2 separate regions of the Homo sapiens genome follow, and region 1 is linked to region 2. The links are contacts of gene promoters, found by promoter capture Hi-C in human tissues and cell types (Jung and others, 2019). All regions are on one chromosome and are shown on one strand. Each heading gives the region's core, a stretch centred on a gene start or on the middle of the fragment in contact. The rest is flanking DNA. Distances are from core to core; before and after follow the strand shown.

What was found. Contacts are between HindIII fragments. The study calls those that stand out against the background at their distance.
Region 1: a fragment that was not itself captured here is called in contact with the fragment with the promoter of KRT74 in region 2 in 2 of the 25 tissues and cell types used here (adrenal gland and bladder).

What each region holds. Positions count from the first base shown.
Region 1 is chr12:52,532,560-52,538,613 of GRCh38, forward strand. No RefSeq gene overlaps it. Among named protein-coding and RNA genes, the nearest start is that of KRT5, 15 kb to the left of the region's middle. The HindIII fragment of the contact is 6,747 bases long and covers 814-6,054 here.
Region 2 is chr12:52,571,208-52,576,938 of GRCh38, forward strand. It overlaps KRT74 (keratin 74), which reads right to left and starts at 2,636. Exons shown (of 9, transcript NM_175053.4): 1 at 2,100-2,636; 2 at 1,246-1,460; 3 at 737-797; 4 at 152-247. The coding sequence starts at 2,570. RefSeq lists an enhancer at 1,061-1,230. The HindIII fragment of the contact is 9,071 bases long and covers 1-5,731 here.

The DNA of each region.
Region 1 (6,054 bases), core at 2,937-5,436, 37 kb before region 2:
GTTTCCTGGGTCCCTGTTCATTCTCCAGCCTGGAAGGCCAAGCCTTTCCCTTGCTCTCTGATCTCAGGCCTCTTCTCCCACCACACAAGGAACCTCTCCTGCAACACTTAGGAGAGGGCTGGGTTGTGGGGCCAGGGTTCATGCCTGGGCCGCCTTAAACCTCTGAGTGTCCAGCTGTGTGCCTGGATGAACACACACCCCTGATGCAGAGTCAGGGTGGCGTGGGGGAATCTCTGTAATGACACCATCGAGGGGCTGGAAACCACAAATGAGCACTTGGAAAGTTGTACTGCAGTCCTTAGAGGGTGAGAGGGTGAGTGTGGCAAACTGCAGCTTCTGACCAGGCCGTCAAAACAACAGGGGCTGTGGGAGGTTCAGCCTGGGTGTGTTGGGGAAGGGGGAGAAGGCTGTGGTGCCCCACCCTACCCCACCCCACCTGTGATAGGTGCTGCCTACAGAGAGATGCTGGGAACCACTCCTGCCGCCCTCTGGCAAGACCTGGGACAAATACCTGAAAAGCTTCTCACCCTAACGCACTTGGCTTCTCCCTGGGTCACTGGGTCACTGGGCCCCTTGCTTGGTTTTGACCGTCTCTGCAGTTCCTGCCCAGTCCCAAAGGCTGACTCCAGCTTCATCCTTTTCCCTCCCAGACCCTTACTGTTGGCCCCACACAGAGTACCCCTCCTCTCTGGAAGCCCTAAGGACCCTTGCTACTCCAGGACTTGGACCTGTGTCTTCAGGTGCTGGATCTGGGACAAAAGAGGGAGACAGTAAAATTTCTCTCTCCCTAGGTAGGAGAGAATATGGCCGGCCACTTCACCCTGGTGGCCCTAAGCATGTTTCATAGTCCCTCTGGCCCTAAATTTCCTTATTAATATAAATTGGTTGGGGGGGGGTTGCTAATAGGATTGTTGAGGATTTAATAAGAAATATCCTTAAAGAACGTAGCTCATGGCCTGACACACAGGAAACCCTCAATTAACTATAGCGATGATCACTATTCCCACCTTCAAGGTTTATCTCTGTGTTTATTTCCCATTCCCATTTCCTTGACGGGCTCTGCACCTCTCCTTTCCTATCCCGTCCTCCTGTCTTTTGACACCGGAAGCTTGGCCTGGGTACCTGGTTCTCCCCCAGTTGGTGTCCCAAGTGTGGGTGCTGTCTCCAAAGTCCCCTTAGACTTGGTCAAGAGGGGCCCCTGCCTTGGGCCTTCTAGTTGCCCTTGTTCCACAGAGTGAGGAGTCTGCAGGGCCAAGGGCCATGCTCATGGGGTCCACACTCCCCTTCTAGACCCGCTCAGCTACCTAAAACCCCAGCATTCCCTCCCCAGTGACTCCCAGCCCACGCTCAGGCCTGTCCTCTGGAGAGCAGACTGCCGGGTGCTGGGCACACCTCTAGGCTGTCTGCAGATTGTGGTTGTGTAGGCAAGGGAGCAAAGCCAGGGGTAGGAAGAGAAAGGGGCAGGCTGCAGGCCAGGAGCTGGGAATTCTCTCCATGCTGCCACATTCCAGAGTTCTGGAACTCTGACGAGTCCAAAATTAAAATCTCCAACTGAGCCTGGCCTACTGGGTCCGTCTGTGGGAGACTCAAACCTCTTGGTCCACTGGCCTGGAGACATTTTAGAAGTGGAGGCTTTGTCTCGGAGCATGGAGGGGATAGGCCTGCCTGGGCTCCCGGCCTGCTGACTGTGTTCTGCTTGACACCAGGCCAGCTGGGCTAAGCGTTCAGATGTAAAGAGGAAGCTGCTGGGGCCTCCTGACAGCAGATGCAAAGCTGAGGTACCCAAACACCTCGACCTTTCTCAGGGGCTCATGTAAGCAAATTGCTTTATCAGCTTTATCAGTTTTTACATTTTCCTTACGCATTTTCATAGAATTTGCCCCATATTCCATGCCATTTTCTCAGGACATCCTTTTGAGCATCCTGGACCCAACCGTCTTCATATAAGAAGAAAAATTTTAGTTTTGGTTTCATCCATGATTATCCTAGACCCAAACATTTAGAAATAAGTTGTTATATGGAATAGCCACCCGAAGGTGTGAGTTTGGGCATAAAAAGCACACATTGCATATATCCTTATCTGTATAGAGTCACGTGGACCTGATTCTGCCACCTTCTGGCTGCGTCACCTGGGGCAAGTTATTTAACGCCTCTAAGCCTCAGGTTCCCCATCTGTAATCTGAAGCCCTGGCCTAGTAGATCTCTAGATAAACTCTAACATCACTCCTACCCCTAAAACTCTGGTACTTACCCCCTTTACTCTTCCTTCTTTATTTTGCATTCAGCCCAGGGATCTCATCTTCCCAAAGCTTCTTTCATGTTCCTGCCCCTTTTACCTTCACAGTTCCTGACATTGGAGAAGGCAGTGTTTTAAAGCCCAGCTCCAATGCCCTTTAATCCAGAAAGCCACACTCTTCAGTCGCTACATTGGAAGACCCACCTTGGAGGCTGGACGGAAACCTGGGGGTTCACCCAGCTCAACCCCCTCATTTAACAGGAAGGGAAACTGAGGGCAAAATGAGGCAGTGACTTAGAGACAGAGCCAGGTCTGGAACCCAAATGCCCTTTAACCTTGCCACCTCTGGGATCCACAACCCTCAGGGCCACCATTTTAACTTGCACATATTATTATTACTGTGATCATCTGTGCTTCCTTAGAACCTTAATACCTCTGAGGGCCAGAATCACATTGTGTTCATTCTGTAGCCACCCTGTCCTGCGCCAACCCTCCAGCATCATCCCTGTACCAGATGGTACCTCAATAAGTGTCTGTTAAGTTTCACTAAACATAAATCCCATTTTGATCGTTGCAAAAAAACCACGTCTCATTTGAAGACCTCCCTGTGTTCTTATATCTGACTACTGTTGTGGTAGAGCAAACTGAAAGGGTTTGCAAAAGCCGATTGTTAAATTTTGAAGAACGTTGTGAGCTGTTATTAAACATAGCCATAATTCAAATTAAATTATGTAAAATTATAGTTAAATACATTGCATTAAAAACAAAGGGAAGAAATGTTTAAAACTCATCATTTTCTAATTTTATTATACTTTACTTTGATATATTATCAAAGTTCTTGTGGTTGTTGACATTTATTGAATCTACATGCAGAAATCCCCTACCATGGTGTTCACATCTCTTTCCAGCCTGTAATCAGTGACATCATGTTGGTAGCTTGAAATCACCTTTGTGGGAGAATTTACCCCAAGCGAACTGGCAAGCACTACAAATCAGAGCTTGGTTTATTGTTTGGTTGATTGTCTGGAGCTGCACAGCCTCACACAGCTGCCACTAGTTCCATGTGGCTAACTGAGCACTTGAAATGTGGCTAGTCCAAGCTTAGATATGTCATATGTACTGGATATTGAAGATTCAGAATGGAAGAAAAGAATGTAAAATATATCATCAAAAATGTTTATATTGATTATCTATTGAAAGAATAGTGTTTTCTATATATTATGTCAAATATATTAGAATTAATTTAGTCTATTCCTTAAATGTGGCTACTAGCAGATTTTAAATAATATCTGTGGCTTTCATTGCATTTCTACTGGACAGCTCTGGTCTAAATTTAATAAAGTGATGGGGAAAATGTTTATAACGTAGATTAAAATTAAAAGTATGTTGTGCCCATTGATAATAACATTATGAATAGCCAAAAAATACAAAATAATATCCCGGTATTTAAAACCCATTATCTGATTCAGCCAAAAAGTCACTCACATCATTGAGGAGCAAGTAAGTTCCAACATTCATCTTCATCATTTCACGTTCATCTTAACTGTGAAGATGAACATGGGAGCTAACATTCATGTGGGGGCTATGCTGGTTTGTTGGTTGCAGCCACTGGCCAGCCATGGGCATAAGAGTTTGTCAAAAGCCAACTGAAAGCATTCCATGAGGGTCACTTGGCTGTATCAAGTTTATAATAAAGAGTATTGTAGGGCTGGGCACGGTGGCTCACGCCTGTAATCCCAGCACTTTGGGAGGCCGAGGTGGGTGGATCATGAGGTCAGGAGATCGAGACCATCCTGGCTAACATGGTGAAACCCCATCTCTAATAAAAATACAAAAAATTAGCCGGGCGTGGTGGCGGGCGCCTATAGTCCCAGCTACTTGGGAGGCTGAGGCAGGAGAATGGCTTGAACCTGGGAGGCGGAGCTTGCAGTGAGCCGAGATGGTGCCACTGCACTCCATCCTGGGCAACAGAGCGAGCCTCCGTCTCAAAAAAAAAAAAAAAAAAAGACTTGTAGATTTTATTATTATTTGTAAACTGTATGCTACATATCTAATATAGCAGTAAAACTTCTAGTAAACTTATAACATAAACATAAATACACATTTACATGTATATATATTTGTATATATACACATCTATGCATTTTTTCAGAGAGCTGGTTGTTAGGCTCAGCAGCACACTTTAGTTACCAGCACACCACTGTCTCCACCCCTCTCGCTACCCTGTGAGCCCATTGCCCAGGCCCTGTCCTTTGTGGCACTGACAGCCTGTCCCTTCCCTTCCTTCATTTTCCAAATCCGCAGAGTCTCAGAGGTGTGGACTAGAGGTCCCTGCGCCTCCTCTTCCCCTCCTCCCTTTTTTCCACTTTGGACATCTTTTTCAGTCTATTCTCCACTCCACTGTCCTGCCTCCCATCCCAGTTTGTAGACACGTGCCCTGGATAGTCAACCACAGTGCCACAGAGATGTCATTCCCCAGGTTGGCACTCAGCCCCAGCCCTGCCTGCCTGCTCTTGCCCTTCGGTACTGGCTGCTGACAGGCCTGGCACTCAGGATGTCAGGTGGTGACTAGGTCTCCCACCTGTCTGCTAGTCTTTTCTAACCCCATCAAAGATAGCTCTGAAGCAAGACCAAGGGGTGCCTACATCACAGAGAGGGGAGTCTGTGCCAGTGAATGGTGTCCAGAGCACTGGGGACACAGCTCTGCGGCTCTGCAGGTTTCTTGTAATCGCCATCATCGCAAACACCTTGTGCAGCCTGCAGCAATTCTGCCATGAACACCACACACAAAAAACACTACACCACCCAAGCTGTGCCCACCAGGAACCTCCAGGATGCAGGGGACACATTGATCAAGACTTCCAAAGGTCGAGGAGGGGGTACTTGGGGGTAGAAGTAGCAATCCTGTTTAAAGTAAATCATGAACTTTGGAGCAAGGCATGGCCTTAGAAGGAGACTCCAAGAGTTCGGTTCAGGGAGAAGTACAGGGGAAAGTTCCACTGCAGTGGGGTGAGATGGAGAAGGAAGTTAGAGACTGAAGCTCTGATTAGTCCCCTGGAGGAGGCAACATTTCAGAAACGTGGTCTAAAATACACTGGTCTAGGGCACAAGAAGAAGGAGGAGGAGACAAGTACTCCCGCTGCTGGGAAATCGATTTAGGACTAGAGTCCCCAGTGAACCCCTAAAAATTACCCACAGTTTCTAGGGTAGGTATTATTGTATCTAATAATAGTAATCATTTATTGCTATAGCTAACATTTATTGAGCTCTTACTATGGGCCTGGGATTTTATGTCTCAAACAAAAAGATGCAAAGAAGTAGTTATTATTATTATTATTACTGTTATTGTTATTATTATCCTCACTTCTACAGAAGCGAAAAGAGACTCAAGAAGATTAAAGAACTTGCTAAGTGTGGCAGCCCTGCTGGAGGCTGGGCCCAGAGCCAGGCCCCTCACCCCTGCAAGGCATCGCTCCTGCAGGATCGTCGTCACCCTCATCATCGCCATCCTTGTTCCTGACAGGCAGGAGATCCTGGTATTTTTCTGTGTGCTTCCCCTTCTCCATCCCTTTTGGTGATTTTCTGAACATTGTGCAGTTGACAGTGTGGTCATATTCCCATCGTGTAGATGAGGACCCTGAGGTACAAAGAGGTGACATGGGAAATGCTGAGACAGGGCGCAGGTTTGATGTGTTTCTCAGTAGTCTGAAGCAATTGAGAAAAGTAAGTGCAATGCAGTAAATCTTTCATGGGGCTAGCTTGACTTTATCTAAAGGGCTGAGCTTAGTCTGAGAGAATGTCCTTCCTACTGTTAAATT
Region 2 (5,731 bases), core at 1,386-3,885:
CCTGCACTTCCATGGTCTCCTGGTGCAGGGTTTTGTACCTTTCTACCAAAACATCTTTCATTTTGTTGATCCTAAATCTCTCCTTTTGGTATCTCCCTGGAAGAGTCGGGAAGGAGGCAGGGTGAGGGTGGGGGGACAGGAGTGTCCTTACTGCATCATACAGACACTTGAGGAACTTGATTTCTTTGTCCAGTGAGTCCACTTTGGCCTGAAGCTCCACCTTGACTGCGTAGGCTGCATCTGCATCCTGCCAAGAGGCCCCAGAGTCATTGGGGGATGCAACCCTCATCCCACAGCTGCCCTGCCCAACTCCTGCCTCAAAGCCACCTGATTTTCTATTTTCTACCCACAAAGGAAAGCTCACTCAATATCAATTTCTTCTCAGGCTGCCTGAAGCTTTGGGAATAGGGAAAGGAGGATGGGGCAGCTCTGTTATGCCTGGAGAAAACAAAGCCCAGAGAGGTAGTAGGTTTCCTCAGGTCACACAGCAAGGTTGAGCTGGACCCGAGTTTCACAGTTCCCAGACCAGAATTCTGTCTGTCTCTGTCCATTTCCTGAGTGTGTGTCTTTCCTCTCCAACTCACTGGAGGCCAGGACTATGACTCCACCCTCACCAGGCACCAGCCCCCTCACCAGGCACCAGCCCCCTCCCCAGCCTCCTGGGCTGAAGTCCTGAGCAGAGTTGTTAAGATGGGGGTGCGAGAGACCCTAATAAGGAGGCTCCTCCCTCTCTTACCTTCTTAAGCACCACAAACTCATTCTCTGCTGTCGTGCGCCGGTTAATCTCCACTTCATATCTGCCAGCAGGGAGAGTAGATGGCCTTAGCCCCCTTAGCCAAGGAACTTTCTCTTCCTGCTGGCCAGGCAAATGTTTGGGATACAGGGTCCCTGCAGGGTCTCTGGGGTGAGCAGTAAGAGGCTAGTGACAGGAGTAAGATATCCCTGAGTTGCTTCACTTGTCTCCTAGTTTTTGCATGTTAGGAAAACACCCAGGTGCCTATTGGGCTCCCGACACCAGCAACTGAACATTTCAGTGGGTCAAGGAGCACAGGAACCGCTTCCTATCAACTAGGCAGGAAGTTATCATCAAAGAGGATAGGCCCTTCCCCCTAGCCAGAGAAAGGGATGTGAGCTCCTGACCCTGGTGCATACTCCCCCATCTCCTAAAAAATAATGGCACAGAGATCAGGTGAGCCCAGAGGCACGGGAAACATGGTCTGTGACCCTCGGGTGGAGCCTGCTCACCTCTTCTTATAGTCCTCCACCAGATCCCTCATGCTTCTCAGCTCCGAGTCCAGCCTCACCCTGTCCCCAGACAGTGTCTCCAGCTGCTTCCGCAGGTTGCTGATGTAGCCCTCAAGGATGGGCTCCAGGTTCTTCTTGCAGTTGTTCAGGTCCAGCTGCTGCAGCAGCTCCCACTTGGTTTCTAGAACCTGGTTCTGCTGCTCTAGGAAGCGTACCTGGAACCCAAATCAACAGACACCTGGAACCACAATGGGTGCAGTCATGCCCCCTGGACACACACCATTGACTCCCCAGGTTTGCCATAGATTGTTGTAGTCATTTTTGCTCATGTCTTGACTCTCCACCCTTGCCATTCCACACAAACTAGATCCTTTACAAGTGCTCATTTCCTAGCCTTCTGGACAAGGCATCACTGAGAACTCACTCAAGGAGTTTCCACAGCTTTCTTCTATTGCTCGGCCCTGGTCCCAGGAGATGTCCTTCCTTATGTCTCAACTAAGTGTCTCTTCCTGTACCATGAGCCCTTCCCTCTGAACACTGCTGGATTCTATTAGCCTTTCATGTTCTTGGAAGATCCAGCTGTCCTCAAGAAACTCATCACTTTTTTGTCAAGGAAGGGCTGCTCTTTACCCAGCTTCCCATCCTTCCCTGCAAAATCGCCAAAGAAGCCGATATATTCATGTATTCCTTTGTCCTCCGTGGCTCACAGACCTACTCTCCTTCCCTAATGGTGAGGAAGCCCTTCCTGAGGCCCAGCTGCACCTTTCCAGCCACAGTGTGCAGTCCATTCCCAGGCAGCAGGAAAACTGCTCAGGCCTCAGGGTGCGGCCTCATCCTCCTCCTATGAGACCCACCTTGTCAATGAAGGAGGCGAACTTGTCGTTCAGCACCTTGATCTGTTCCCGCTCCTGGGCGCGCACCTTCTGGATCTCAGGGTCCAGCTCCACGTTGAGGGGGGCCAAGAGGCTCTTGTTGACAGTGACCTGGTGGATGCCCCCAGGTGGGCACACAGACAAACATGCAGGCCCCAGGGCCACACTGCCAAACATACTGCCAGCAAAGCCACTGGCCCGGCCCCCTCCATACCCAGAGCCAGGCCTGAAGCCGTAACCTCCAGCCCGAACGCCGCCACCAGCCACATTGAAAGAAATACGCCGATTCCCTCCAAGGCTATAGAGGCTCCGACTGCCAAAGCCAGCGCCAGCCCCTCTGCCAGCTGCACAGTAAGAAGCCAGGCTACCCACAGCCTTCCTTGGCACCACTGCCGAATGCACACTGAAGTTGCCCTTGTCACCACTGGACTTGATGTTCAGTTGCCGACTCATGGTGGGAAAGGTTGAGTTGACAGAGCTGGAGAAAAGCAGTCTCCAAGGGGTAGAGAACACACTGATGGGGCACCCAGAGTGCTGCCTCCTTTTATCCCTGTTGAGCCCAGGACACCGGAAAAGGGCGTCTCTCCACTATCTCCTTTCCCCTGCTGATGGGCCAGGGGCCATGGGCAATTTGTAGAACAGAGATCTCCAAGCCCTTTGCAGCAACAAAGCTCTTCTGATAGCAAGTGGAATATGCTGCCCTTGCAGAGTGGAGTGGTCTAATTTGGAGTTTATCTGTGCTCCCTAATTAAGGACCTGAAGAGTTATCCCCTGAAGAGATCTCCTAGCTTTATTTTTCCAGTGCTACCTCCTTCTTGCTTAACCATCAGCAAGGAGCAGGGGAAATGCCTGGCTTTCCCCAGAGTAGACTCACCTGAAAAACCCCAGGTTTCTTCCCAAAAGAAACCATCTCTCTATTATAGGGTCTTGTGTGGAAGCTGGAATTTTTACCTCAGGGAAAAGAAGACATGGAAAGATGATTCTTCTTGGAAAGATGTCCTCAAAGATCTGGATCTGGGTAAGAAGCTCCAGGGTCCGTCCTTGGGCCATGCTAAGGACCACAGCTGTCTAGCAGTGAAGTGGACCCCAGGAAGGAAGAGGAATGACTCTGCAGCATCTGCATGCCCCCCTAGCAGGGATATTGTCTAGGGCCTTCTGTGTTGGGCAGGGCCTGGGTGGTGGTGACCTTGACATTGCCTTACAACCATGAGAACCTTTCCAGTCAGCTGCATTTCCTCCAGTTGGATTTTCTCTCCTGGATAAGATTATTTGTCCTACTCTAGGAAGTCAGGCAGGAGCTGGGATATTAGCCCCTGCACTCCCTGGGGAAACACCCTATGGCTGAAGTCACCAAGGAACAGGACCCCCTGAGTTTCACTCCCAGGTTCAGGGTGGGCTGTTCTGCCAGTTTCCTGGCAACTTCAGGGAGCACTCAATTTTCAAACAGGAAGTATCACTGCTTTATAGCTCAGGTAGTGTGGGTACAGTGCAATGTTAAAAAATTATTTCAGGGCTGGGCATGGTGGCTCACACCTGTAATCCCAGCACTTTGGGAGGCCAAGGAGGGCAGATTGCCTGAGGTCAGGAGTTTGAGTCCAGCCTGGCTAACATGGTGAAACCCCGCCTCTACTAAAAATACAAAAATCAGCCGAGCGCAGTGGTGCATGCCTGTAGTCGCAGCTACTCAAAAGACTGAAGTAGAAGAATCACTTGAACCTGGGAGGCAGAGGTTGCAGTGAGCCTAGATTGTGCCACTGCACTCCAGCCTGGGCAACAGAGCAAGACTCTGTCTCCAAAAAACAAAAAAAATTATTTCAAAGCTAGGTATCTGGCAGCTGCCCTCATGCAAGACTCTGACCACTTCCTATAACTAAACTGAGAACACTTGGCTTGTTTGGATCCAGCCGAGGGCAGAAGACAACTGCTCCCACTGCTGGGGAGGGAAAAGGAGAAGCTGACCTGGGCAGGGAGCGTGGAGCTTAGGCCTGGAAGCTGCCCCGGAAGAATTTCCCCTTCACAGGGTGTTTTCCTCTCAGCCCCTGAGGTAACGGTGGAAGGTCCTTCCCCAGGGACCCTGTCTCGGGGGGCTTTCCCGGCAGGGCCTAGCCCTACAGCACAGGAGCATGTAATCGAAGGGGTTGCTTGTGGTTTTCTAAGTCAGGTTGCAAGGGCAGCAGCAGGGGTGCCGCCAGATGCTGGGTTTGCCGCCCTCCTGTGCTGGAGTGTGCAAGACAAAAAATGGCGTGAGTTCCTTAACCTGGGGGTGACTGTCCTAGGGCCCCAGCCACCAAGAAGCCTGCAGACCAATGAGAGGAATCTACACAAAGAACTTAAAGTAGAGCCAAAGCTCTGGAATGACAGAAAAGCATTATGAACCACGAATCAGAGGTGCACTGAGGAATGGCTCATCTTGATTAGGGTTTTTGGGGATCTCCAGAAGCCAGGCTTATATTCCCAACAACGCCCACTACAGGTGCTGGCTCAGAGTAGTGGCTCAGAGGTAGTGGGGCTGGAAGTATTCCTTATGGCAGTAGTAGCAATAGTGGTAGTAACATCATTGTATAATAGTGATGGTAGTAACAGAAAGTGTTAACACTTATTCTTCACTTCACATGTGCCAGGCATGGGATGTCTACATGGGATGTCTCACTTAACCCTCTTTAACTAACTTCATTTACAGTTGAAGAAACAGAGGAACTTACCCATCTCACTCAACTAGTAAGTCAGAGCTGGGCCGGAATTCAAGTGCGTCTGGTTTCAAAGTGCATGTTCCTGACCATCGTGTTATGTGATAGAGATGGAAGTTAGTGGCAAAGATGCAAAGACATTGTGGTACATGTGGCAGGCATGGCAGCTGTGGGCTGGGGACCTTGTGCTTGTGTTTCTGTTGTTTTTGATTCAAGTGTGACATGAGGAGAAGGGGAGGTTGTTGCTGAACTAGGGGCTTGCAAAGGGTAGCTGCTCAAGATAAGACATCACTCTAGGTTCAGAGAGAAAATCAGCCACAGCAAGGATGGGCAGGGGGAAGGAAGAGACTTGCTTTCATGAGCGGCTGTTTTATTCTAGAATCACCAGCAGCTGGCCCTTCATTGCCCGGCTCCGAGGGGAAATAATCATAGTTCTGGCTAGCTGAGTCTTTGCGCCACCACTGCCTGGCTGACTATGAGCCCCAATCTGATAGGAACTTCAACGAAAAGGCATTTACAAAGCAGAAAAGGCATGAGGCTAGATCTTTGAGGCTGGAGAAGACTTAGGGTAAACAAAAGGCAGATATCCAGGTGCCCAGGGAAATGCAGCAGAATGAATGGGGTCCATCCACACTCAGAAGTGATGGGCTGGGGAGGGCCAGGACTAAGGCTAGGGGTCCTGGCACCCTTTGTATTCATTACAAAGGGTGCCCCTGTGGGCTGGGCCCTGTGCTGGAGGCTGGCCAGTAAGGGTTGCTGACAGCGGTGGTAATGATGGTGGCAGAGTGGCTGTGACGGAGAAGGAAAAGGTAGAGGCAGAGTAGAATTTCCTGACAACAGTGTTGTGATTGTGGCCACACAGAAGCAATCCTCCTAATTGGTTCCTAGGGAGCTTAATTGCAGGGGAATTGCCTTTGGCCTATGCAG